Linked DNA regions of Homo sapiens: regions 1 and 3 are each linked to region 2. Evidence: promoter capture Hi-C in 16 types of primary human blood cells and fetal thymus (Javierre and others, 2016). All regions are on one chromosome and are shown on one strand. The core of a region is centred on a gene start or on the middle of the fragment in contact, and the rest is flanking DNA. Distances in the headings are between cores, read along the strand shown. Region 1 overlaps FANK1 (fibronectin type III and ankyrin repeat domains 1). Region 2 holds the start of ADAM12 (ADAM metallopeptidase domain 12). Region 3 overlaps FANK1 (fibronectin type III and ankyrin repeat domains 1).

The links. The method cuts DNA at HindIII sites, captures the fragments that hold promoters and counts their contacts. A CHiCAGO score of 5 or more calls a contact.
Region 1: a fragment that was not itself captured here is called in contact with the fragment with the promoter of ADAM12 in region 2 in 5 of 17 cell types (M1 macrophages, M2 macrophages, endothelial precursors and 2 more); the score reaches 9.5 in M1 macrophages.
Region 3: a fragment that was not itself captured here is called in contact with the fragment with the promoter of ADAM12 in region 2 in 2 of 17 cell types (M0 macrophages and M1 macrophages); the score reaches 5.1 in M0 macrophages.

What each region holds. Positions count from the first base shown.
Region 1 is chr10:125,955,326-125,958,796 of GRCh38, reverse strand. The region is part of intron 1 of FANK1 (fibronectin type III and ankyrin repeat domains 1); the gene reads right to left. Among named protein-coding and RNA genes, the nearest start is that of FANK1-AS1, 16 kb to the left of the region's middle. The HindIII fragment of the contact is 1,341 bases long and covers 1,287-2,627 here.
Region 2 is chr10:126,387,017-126,390,687 of GRCh38, reverse strand. ADAM12 (ADAM metallopeptidase domain 12) reads left to right here and starts at 2,211. Exons shown (of 23, transcript NM_001288973.2): 1 at 2,211-2,630. The coding sequence starts at 2,543. The HindIII fragment of the contact is 6,902 bases long and covers 1,768-3,671 here.
Region 3 is chr10:126,005,561-126,009,303 of GRCh38, reverse strand. It overlaps FANK1 (fibronectin type III and ankyrin repeat domains 1), which reads right to left. Exons shown (of 11, transcript NM_145235.5): 8 at 754-897; 9 at 173-250; 10 at 38-82. Among named protein-coding and RNA genes, the nearest start is that of FANK1-AS1, 34 kb to the right of the region's middle. The HindIII fragment of the contact is 4,731 bases long and covers 1-3,636 here.

The sequences.
Region 1 (3,471 bases), core at 708-3,207, 430 kb after region 2:
ACATTTCTCAAAAGAAGACAAACAAATGGCCAAGAAATATATTTTTTAAATGCTCAACATTATTAATTATAAAGGGAAATGCAACTCTAAATCACAGTGAGGTATCACCTCACTGGAGGATGGCTATTATCAAAAGACAAAATAACAAATGCTAGTGAGGATGTAGAGAAAAGGGAACTCTTAAACACTCTTGGTGGGAATGTAAAGTAGTATAGCCGCTATGGAAAACAGTATGGAGGTTCCTCAAAAAACTACAAAAGGCTTGGCATGGTGGCTCATGCCTGTAATCCCAGCACCTTAGGAGGCCAAGGCTGGCCAATCACTTGAGACCAGGAGTTCGAGACCTAGCCTGGCCAACATGGCGAAACCCCGTAAGACATGCCTGCTTCCTCTTTCACCCTGATTGTAAGTTTCCTGAGGCCTCTTCAGCCATGCAGAACTATGAATCAATTAAGCCTCTTTTTAAATTACCCAGTCTCGGGCAGTTCTTCATAGCAATGTGAAAACAGACTAATACAGAAGCTAAAAAAAATGTTGATCACACAGAAGTAAAAAAGAGAACAGAGGATACTAGAGGCTGGGAAGGGTAAAGGGAGCAGAGAGATAGGAAGAGGTTTGCTAAAGGATACAAAATTACAGCTAGATAGGAGGAATTAGTTCTAGAGTTCTACAGTACTGTAGAATGACTATAGTTAACAGTAATACATAGTTTCAAATAGCTAGAAAGAGAATATTTAATGTTCACCCTCCCAAAATAATGTTCCAGACGATATGCTAATTACCCTGATGCGATCACTGTACACTTTATGCACCAAAACATCACTATATACCCCATAAATATGGGCCAAAAAAGTCAATTAAAAATGTAAAAGAAACCAATTTTTTAAATATTAAAAAAAAAGTACTCAGAAGGAAAGTGTGTCAAACTAGAACTCTTTACCTAGTGACATTATCTTTAAAAAATAAAGGCAAGGCCGGGCATGGTGGCTCACGCCTATAACCTCAGCACTTTGGGAGGCCAAGGCGAAGGGATTACCTGAGGCCAGGAGTTTGCGACCAGCATGGACAACATGGTAAAATCCCATCTCTACTAAAAGTACAAAAATCAGCCGGGTGTGGTGCCGGGTGCCTGTAGTCCCAGCTTCTCGGGAGGCTGAGGCATGAGAATTGCTTGAATTTGGGAGATGGAGGTTGCAGTGAGTGGAGATCATGCCAGCACACTCCAGCCTGGGCAACAGAGCAAGACTCCGTCTCAAAAAAATAAAAATAAAGGCAAAATAAAAGCTTAACATAAACCAAGCTGAGAGAGCTCATCGCTAATACACCTGAACCATACAAAATGTTAAAGGAAGTTCCTCAGGCAGAAGAGAAACCATACAAGATACAAATCTGGATCTACACAAAGTAACAAAGAGCCCTAACAAAGGCAAGTATGTGGGTAAATATAAAATATGTTGTCTGCCTACAACAAAAATAACAACGTTTTGTGAGGTTAATAGGATATGCAAAAGCAACATAGAGGATAACAACAGCACAGAGTCTGGGGCCTGGAAGAATACTGTCGTAAGGTTCTTGTGCATAACATCAAGCAGTGGGGTATTATTTGAAGGAAGATTGTGATATGTTAAAGATGTCTACAGTAAGCCAGGTGCGGTGGCTCACGCCTGTAATCCCAGCACTTTGGGAGGCCAAGGCAGGCAGATCACAAGGTCAGGAGATCGTGACCATCCTAGCTAACATGGTGAAACCCCGTCTCTACTAAAAATAGAAAACAGCCGGGTGTGCTGGCACACACCTGTAGTCCCGGCTAGCTATTCGGGAGGCTGAGGCAGGAGAATCGCTTGAACCCGGGAGGGTGATGGGGAGGTTGCAGTGAGCTGAGATCGCGCCATTGCACTCCTGCCTGGACAACAGAGCGAGATTGTCACTGTACATTAGAAGCCTATACTACCCCGAACTCGCCCTTATTATACAAATCTATAATGAGTTTTACGTTTTTCCTGGTTATTAAAATCATCTTCCTTCTGGCTTGTCGGATATTCTCCTAAATGGCCTGAGCGAGTCCCTTCATGGTCACCATCATTGCTAAATAAACACACTCACAGGTTACCACACAATGATCTAACTCTTATGACCACTAAACTATAATTTTAATTTTAAACTGCCTAACTATAAAATTACTTTCTACTATTAAAAACCTATACAATAAATATATTACATTTCATGTACCTGTGGTATATTTTCTGTAAAACCAAAGAATCTTTGGTGAAAAGTTAAAAATTCCAACTTGATCTGAAGTGGGAAAGCAATAAAGATAAAAATTATTCATGCTCATACATAATAAATCTGCCTGCTCCTTCCCATTTTCTATACCAATATAACTTGCATTATATTTGGAGGCTTAACATTAGAGCTTGGAGGCAAGGGATATCTCCAATAAATCATATTTTCTGTACAATCTTTAAGACAGCCTTTGATTTTTTGCTTTTCCAAAGTGAAGTGCTCAATAAACATCACTTTGAATCTCCTTTCAAATATATTCAATCCTCATCCTGGTTGTTTCCTCCCTTTACCCCCACCACCGCCCCCCCCCCAAAAAATGTATCATAGAAGTACTGGTTTAAGCTTCAAGAGTAGATCGTGTGTAAATCACCTGCATCCTTGCTAGGCAGAACGCCTTTCAGCCAAACTGTGATACAGCAAAATTCTTTATCTCAATCCCCATTTTCCTCCTGATTCTGACTTTAAAATGGAAGTGGGAATGTGGGCTTAAATGCCCCCCACCTCCCATCACATCCAGGATAATGAGTCATAGTTCCGTTGACTAGAAGTCTTTCAAAACATTAAGTTCTTTTCATTTTCCTTGAACATGATATATCCTCCCCAACCCTGCTTCCTTCCACTGCCTTAGAACATAGATTCTTTTGTACTTGGAAGGAACTTGATTTGTTTTGGAGCTGAATAATCACTTGAGATGAAGCATACAACTGAGATCTTATTAAAACTTCATTTAAAAATAAGATGGGGCCAGGCACAGTGGCTCACACCTGTAATCCCAGCACTTTGAGAGGGTGAGGCATGAGAATTGCTTGAGCCTCAGAGTTTGAGAACAGACTGAGAAACATGGCGAAAATCTGCTGCGACAAAAGTTAGCTGGGTGTGGTGGCATACACCTGTAGTCCCAGCTACTTGGGAGGTTGAGGTGGGAGGATCTCTTGAGCCTGGGAGGTCAAGGCTGCAGTGAGTCATGATCGCACCACTGCACTCCAGCCTGGGTGACACAGCAAGACCCTGTCTGAAAAGATCACAATAATAAGATGCATCAACTTTGATGTTACAACTATGCAGCCATAAAAAGGAACAAGATCATATCCTTTGCAGGGACATAGATGGAGCTGGAAGCCATTATCCTCAGCAAACTAATGGAGGAACAGAAAACCAAACACTACATGTTCTTACTTATGAGCTGAA
Region 2 (3,671 bases), core at 962-3,461:
GTGGGTTGGGAGACATTGCATTATTTCACCTGGTGCTCACAACCACCTGGGAGGTTTGTATTTTACCTTCACTTAACAGCTGCTAAAACTGAAGGTTGGAACTCAGCCTTAAAGAAACAGGCTTTATCTTTAACAGATCTGAGGTTGGGCTCTGACCTACTTCACTGTGTGGTGGTGGGAAAGCTACATCTCTATGCTGCAGTTTCCTCATCTGTATATTCAGGACTTAAAAAATGAAATAATGCAGGTGAAAGACGTTAGCACAATACTCCGATTATACGAGGTATGTAATGAATTATGAAGTAGTAAATAGTCTGTTTTCGTGCTGCTGATAAAGACATACACAAGACTGGGTAAAATTATACAGGAAAAACGTTTAATGGACCTACATTTCCACATGGCTAGGGCAGAAGACATGAAGGGGCAAGTCATGTCTTACATGGATGGTAGCAGGCAGAAAGTGAGAGAGAGCTTGTGGAGGGGAACTCCTCTTTTTAAAACCATCAGATCTTTTGAGACTTATCCACTACCATGAGAACAGCACAGGAAAGACCTGCCCCCATGATTCAATTACCTCCCACCAGGTCCCTCCCACAACACATGGGAATTCAAGATGAGATTTGGGTGGGGACACAGCCAAACCATATCAGTAAACAAGCCTAATCATTATTAACTAGGTTAAGTAACTAGCTCACACTGTCCAATAATGATGATTTATCAGTTTGATCAGAAAGAAAAGTCTTTGAAGGCAAGAGGCTTTCTCGTTTAGTTTCCCAAGTTCTAACATAGGGTTGCTCATGTAGATTGACTGAATGAATGAACAAAAGAAGTACACTGCAACGCTGGTTGGTAGTACGGTTAGATATGACACAGGGCTTGAACCAGGCCTGGTTTCCAGATCTGGTACTGAGATATGGCAGCATTGGGAAGGGGGCTGGAGAGCCTGTGCTTCCCACTAAGGTTTTTTAAAAAGAAAGTCCTGCACCTTGTTAGGAGGATCGACCTGGGTTTTGGGAACACTGCAAAACCTGCCGTGGGAGGGAACTCCTGAGAAAACTCCTCTGCAGTGGGAAGAGATGGTATGGAAGGCAGCTTCCTCAAATGCTGGATAACCGCCTCCTAGGAGTGGGTGCTCCGTCAGGAATCGGTGCGAGGTCGCAGGACCAGGATGGAATTTCTGCAGGTGGTCCTAGGTCTGAGCAGCACAGTAGAATCACCTGAGGCTTTGAAAACTATTGAGCTCCACGCATTGTGGGAAACTGAGTTAACTGGTGTCTGGGGCTGGCAATGTCTTTAACTCTTACTATTCTAATAAGTCCCCAAGGTTGGGAATCATGGTAACCCGCAGGGTGGGCATCAGCCATCCTCCATAGCTCCAGCCATTTCTGTCTGTGCGGGCCCCCTCGCTGCTGCTTTTCATGGTCTCCCTGAGGGCCGAGCGAGGCTGAAGAGGTGGGGTCAGCCCGGAACAAGGATGAGAAGGCAAGGCGCACCATTCTTTCATTGGTGTTTCTCCAAACACCCTGGGCTCCCCTGGCCTCACAGCCTGGAGAGTCTCATTCTGAAAGCGTAGGAGGGCGCCCGGGAATCTTTTTAACAAGCCAACCCAGGTGCTTCTTACAATCAGGAAAGTTTGGGGAACGTCACTGTACACCCTTTTCTGGGTCCAGGTCATGGAATGGAAACGTGAGCCAATCTATCAACGTAAAACCTAACACTGTTGATCAAAAGTAACGCCCAGGTGTCTTGTGCCTGCGAGTCCAAGCTTGTTTCTCGGGCGAGAGATGCCCCTTTGGGCGCTTAGGGCCGGGCGGGGTCGCGCGCCGGGCTGTGGGCCGCGGTGGAGACCTGACCCGCACTCCGAGGGTTCCCAGAGAGCCGGGGAGCGAGTAGCAGAGTCATCGTTTCCAGCTTCAGCCTGAAAAGCTGGACCGTGCCGCCGCATGTGCGCTTGGCAGCCGGGCGCCCCGGGCCCTGCGGCCACATCATCCTGGGGCGGGGACGTGTGCGCTCCGGGCGCCCGGACGCCACTGAGCCACGTCTGAGCCGCCCACCCTCGGGGGTGAGCGAGCCGCGGCTCGGGGCGGGACCCTGGCGGGGGGACCCGAGCGGTCTCTAGGACCCGCGGGACGCCGCCAACTGGCGGGGGTGCGGGGGAGACAATAATTTGTTCCGCGGTAATAAGAACGGTGACTGCTGGCCGTGGATCCATTTCACAGGCCTGCCTTCTCTCACTAACGCTCTTCCTAGTCCCCGGGCCAACTCGGACAGTTTGCTCATTTATTGCAACGGTCAAGGCTGGCTTGTGCCAGAACGGCGCGCGCGCGCGCACGCACGCACACACACGGGGGGAAACTTTTTTAAAAATGAAAGGCTAGAAGAGCTCAGCGGCGGCGCGGGCGCTGCGCGAGGGCTCCGGAGCTGACTCGCCGAGGCAGGAAATCCCTCCGGTCGCGACGCCCGGCCCCGGCTCGGCGCCCGCGTGGGATGGTGCAGCGCTCGCCGCCGGGCCCGAGAGCTGCTGCACTGAAGGCCGGCGACGATGGCAGCGCGCCCGCTGCCCGTGTCCCCCGCCCGCGCCCTCCTGCTCGCCCTGGCCGGTGCTCTGCTCGCGCCCTGCGAGGCCCGAGGTAAGTCGCCGAACTAGGGCGGCTCGCTGCCCGCCCCGCCGAGGGCACCGCACGCTGCGCCTGGGCGCGCCGAGGTCCAGGGCTGCCCCGAGGGGCGACGCGCCCCGGCGCATCTCCGGAGCCCCGGGGCTTGCGCTTCCAGCGCGGCGAGACCGACCCCCCCCCCCCAGGTGCCAATTCCTTGGGGAAGGGCGACACTTGGCCCGCAGCCCCACAGGAGCCAGTACCTGCCCCGGAGGGCACAGCCTCGGGACCGCTCCCCCGTCCTCACCCTCTTGGGTGACATTTGCAGATGTCTCTGTATCTTGACATTTACACGTGTCACTCGGGACGATGCGTGTCGGGTCCTCTTGCTGGCCCTATCCCGCAGTGAATATCCCCACCCCAGGCTCCGGGCCAGCCCTTCACCAGGTTTCCTTTCCAGCCCCGCCTCCCCCGCTAACACACTTAGGGGGGCGCGCAGCGGCCCCGCAGGTGAGGCAGCCCCCTCCTCCGCAGGTGTGCCTGCTGCTCTCCACAGCAGGCTCTATTTTCATAAACTGACTCTCTTACCTACTTCTTTAGTTTCCTCTCTGCCCCTCTTCCTGGCTTCCAGGTCACTCCCTAGCTGTCAGTCGCAGGCAAACTTTAGCGGAATTCTCCCTCCTTCCTCCACTCAGTTTCTCCGCCGTAAATAATCGCCCCCATCAACTTGGTGCACAGCGAGAACTTACTTAGTTTAACGTACTTAGTTTTACAGACTTAGGTTTTCCCGAGTTGTAGCCCCTTAAAATCGGGCACCTGTGGCTCCCGTTTGCACAGTGAGGACTCACCCAGCAGGTGCCTTTTTAAAAATCCGGCAACTTCCCCGGGTCTCCGCCGCCGCCGCCTTCTTTCTGCCGCCCGGGGCGCTGTCGGTCCACCGATGAACGACTTCCCTTGGCCGCAAGCTCTCAAGTTCTGTGATTCTATATAACAGGCATTTATTTTTCAACAACTGGCCTAAATCACGAACCGTTACCACTTTATGATACGTTTTATTTTGCGATTGCCACTGCTGCC
Region 3 (3,743 bases), core at 22-2,521, 380 kb after region 2:
AAAAATTAGCCTTGATAGGCAGAAAGAGCATCCCAACCTGTCTGTCAAAAACTCTGGCCATTTCTAGGACACCTTTGCCGAACTGAAACAGGAAACAACAAAAATTTTACATGCTTATAAATGTTTTCTCCCCCTCCGAGGAAAATCTTTACATAAAGATGGACTCATTTACCTCATTTTTTACACTTGCATCTGCCCCTTTGTCAAGAAGTAACTGAACTAACTCTTCATGATTATTTAACACAGCCACCTAGAAAACAAAACCCAGGGTGGTGTGCATGAGCTTCTCCCTCCAGGGCACACACAGCAGGGGGCATGAGCCTGGCACATGCAGGGTCCCAGCAGCCCCCCTGCAACCCCAAAAGACCACTGTGGCTTTGCATGGCCTGCAGGCACAGCGCTTCCTCTGCAGCTGTATGGTAGCAACTCCAGAGAAAATGGAAAATGGACTCCCTCTATCCACACTAAAACCAGAACAGAAAGCAGCTTGTTCTTTGTTTCACCAGTTCTGTTTTGATCCCACAGTGGTCCTGGGGACAGGGGTTCTTTAGTCCTTAAATAGTTGTAAAAAGACAACGAAAGTATTCTAGTGACAGCCTCATGCCCTTATGAACAAGCCGACAGGGAACACACACACACAGTCAAACCCAAGGGCTGGTGCAGGGCTGAACTCACAAGAATTGTCTAATTACAGAAAAAGCTCTGACATTAATTCCACGTAGAAAACTGCCTATTTTCGGGAGGAGGACCTACCATAAGGGGCGTCTTTCCATTTCTGTCCTTCACATTCACATTGGCCCCAGCATCAATTAGAAGAGAGGCCACCCTCTGATTTCCCGACACCGCAGAGACTCTCATGAGTGGGGTCCATCCTGAACCAGTGTCCACGACGTCTACCTGTTGGGCCAGAGAAACAGCTGTGTTGAGCCCAATTTCTTTTTCTTAAAATGATTCAAACTTATAAAAGGAATATTTGCTTGCCCCAACACCCGGACTTAGATAGCCGTCTTTCTATATTTGGTTCATTGCACTGTGCTAATTTAAGTCACATTTTGGTGCTGAGAGGCCCCAGGGTCTCCCCACCGGCTTCTTCATCTACATCCTTTAAAGTGGAAAAAAGATGGGCTAGAAAAGTTAACTGAACTACTTTCCACTTGGCCCCTGGGGAGTTCTTATTTTCTCTTGCCTAACTTTCCTCACCTAGCATTCATTTTTCTTACTTTTATGTATTGTTGTAAGCAGCTTTACATCCTTTCTGGAACAAGACAGTAATAATATATATACACACTTATACTTACTAATACTTATCAATTTTAGGCAGGAGACCTACAGGTAAAATACAGAACAACCAGATTCATTACACAAACTCTGTCTGAAAAGTCTGACTAAAGGCTTCTCCAAAACAGTGTGCCCAGTAATCAGATGGCTGTTTCCTGATCATCTTCTCTACACTGAAATCTCTCAATTTAGTGTTTTAAAATAAATATTTTAGATTAAGAAAATGTAAATATTGTCGCTTCCAATTCCAATGAAGACATCGCCAATCCATGAAGAGTGGTGCTGAAGTAAAGACAGATACGTGTTTGTGCTCAGACACGCACACACACTCGTGTGTGCACACACGCATACCATGTGCACATAAGCACACATGAGCACGTGCACGCACACACACAATCTGTTACAGAAGAATTACTCAAAGATGATCCATAGCTTTAGTAAAACATCAGAATGGAAAAACAAACAAGGAATTTCCAGGAGATCTTGGGAGCACTTCAGGGTATTTCTACATATAAGATTATCCACTGTAACATGATTTGGATTTGCAGCTCTTCTTCATGCAAAGAACTAACCTGTGGGCAACACACTCCATTATATTTAAAGAATAATAAAATAAGCACCTCATATTACATGATGCTTTACACAGCTTTCAACCCTCTTTACACACACTTTCTCTTTTGGTCCTAAACGTTAATCAGAGGTAGGTATTTTTATTCTTGGTTTACAAACAATCAAAATAAACCTCAGAGAAGTGCCTTTCCTGAGATCACATGGATCATTAAATGCACAAATGAATAAGTCAGTCGCCAAGTAAATAAGTCACTCTTAGTATATGATCATTACATTTGGGAAGAAGGTGGTGATTGGCTCTCAAGTCCTTCCCATGGGCTTCAGAAGCATCAGGTGAGCCACCTGCCAGAATATGGAAAGACTCATGTTGACATCATCCATCCGCCACCAGGCCAGTCATGTGGAAATCTATAGTAAACACATCCATGCTTATTGTTCTGTCCTCTGCAAAGTAGTTCCAGTGCTTCAAAGAAAGATGGAATTTATCCCAAATAAGTATATTCATATCTGAAGCCCAGAGAGCCTACATTTCCAAAACTCCAGTATTTAAATGTTGATAGCAGAGATTTGCCCTATTGTGAATGATTTATTTATTTGAGATGGAGTCTCACTCTGTCACCCAGGCTGGAGTGCAGTGGCACAATCTTGGCTCACTGCAACCTCCACCTCCTGGGTTCAAGCAATTCTCCTGCTTCAGCCTCCCTAATAGCTGGGATTACAGGTGCCCACCACCACGCCTGGCTAATTTTTGTATTTTTAGTAGAGACAGGGTTTCACCATGTTGGCCAGGTTGGTCTCAAACTCCTGACCTCAAGTGATCCACCCGCCTTGGCCTCCCAAAGTGCTGGGATTACAGGCATAAGCCACTGTGCCCGGCCCCGATGCTTGACTTCTTTCAGCAAAGTACAACCTTCTTTTTCAACCACAGACTTTCACTAGGTGCAAAACCTGCCCAGAATTCATCATAAACCAATCAAGGAGTGTGTGGCTGTCACTACCACACATGGCACGTGGGCCCGGCTCTACTATGGAAGCCCACTGACTCAGCCTTCTGCCTCTGTGCCTGTCTCTAAAACATAAGGAAAATAAGAAATGTAATAAATTTTTAATGACTGAGATTTTTCCTATAAGGGGGCACTTTTCTTAATTCTCCAAAAGCAGCAGCAGGAACCAGATAGATCCCATAACTGCAGTCTCACTTTCCCTCAATTACCCTTCAGAAACAAACTAGAAGAAATCTACTGACATCTTCCAGGAGACATGACTTTTCTCAATTTGAGTTGATTTTCCAGGTCATCGACTTAATTTCTCAGCACTCTACACACCATCTGGCAGTCACAGATAGCACAGAACTTTGTCCATCATTCTTTAGTTCCATGCTTTGAAATTTTTAGCTAATTTCTTCAAAGTCTTGAAATAAAGTTTTCAAAGTTACCAGCAATTTCCATAATTGATCTAATTCTAATTACCCATCTTCAAATATCTATAGACGTCCAACAACACTGCTTCTATTTGCTAAATCAAATTTGCAGTTTCTGATAACGTGAAATCAAAAGTAGACCACTTGCCTGTTTCCAGGTAAAGATGCAAAGAACTGAAATGTTTTATTCTTGATATGGTCAGTTTCCTCTTTGGAAATTTTTTGTAATGACTAATCTTTAAAACAAACCAAGAATAAAAATTACCTAATTTTAGAAGTAACAAGAAGCACAATGGCTATAAGGGCTCTCTTAATATCTTTGTATCTCCGCCATTTGAAATAATATCTGGTACATGCTTAGTAAAGCTTTGGTGACAGACTGAATGGAGAGAGAAGCAAATGAACAAAAGAACAAAGTAGAAACATCAGGCTGGGCACGGTGGCTCACACTTGTAATCCCAGCACTTTGGGAGGC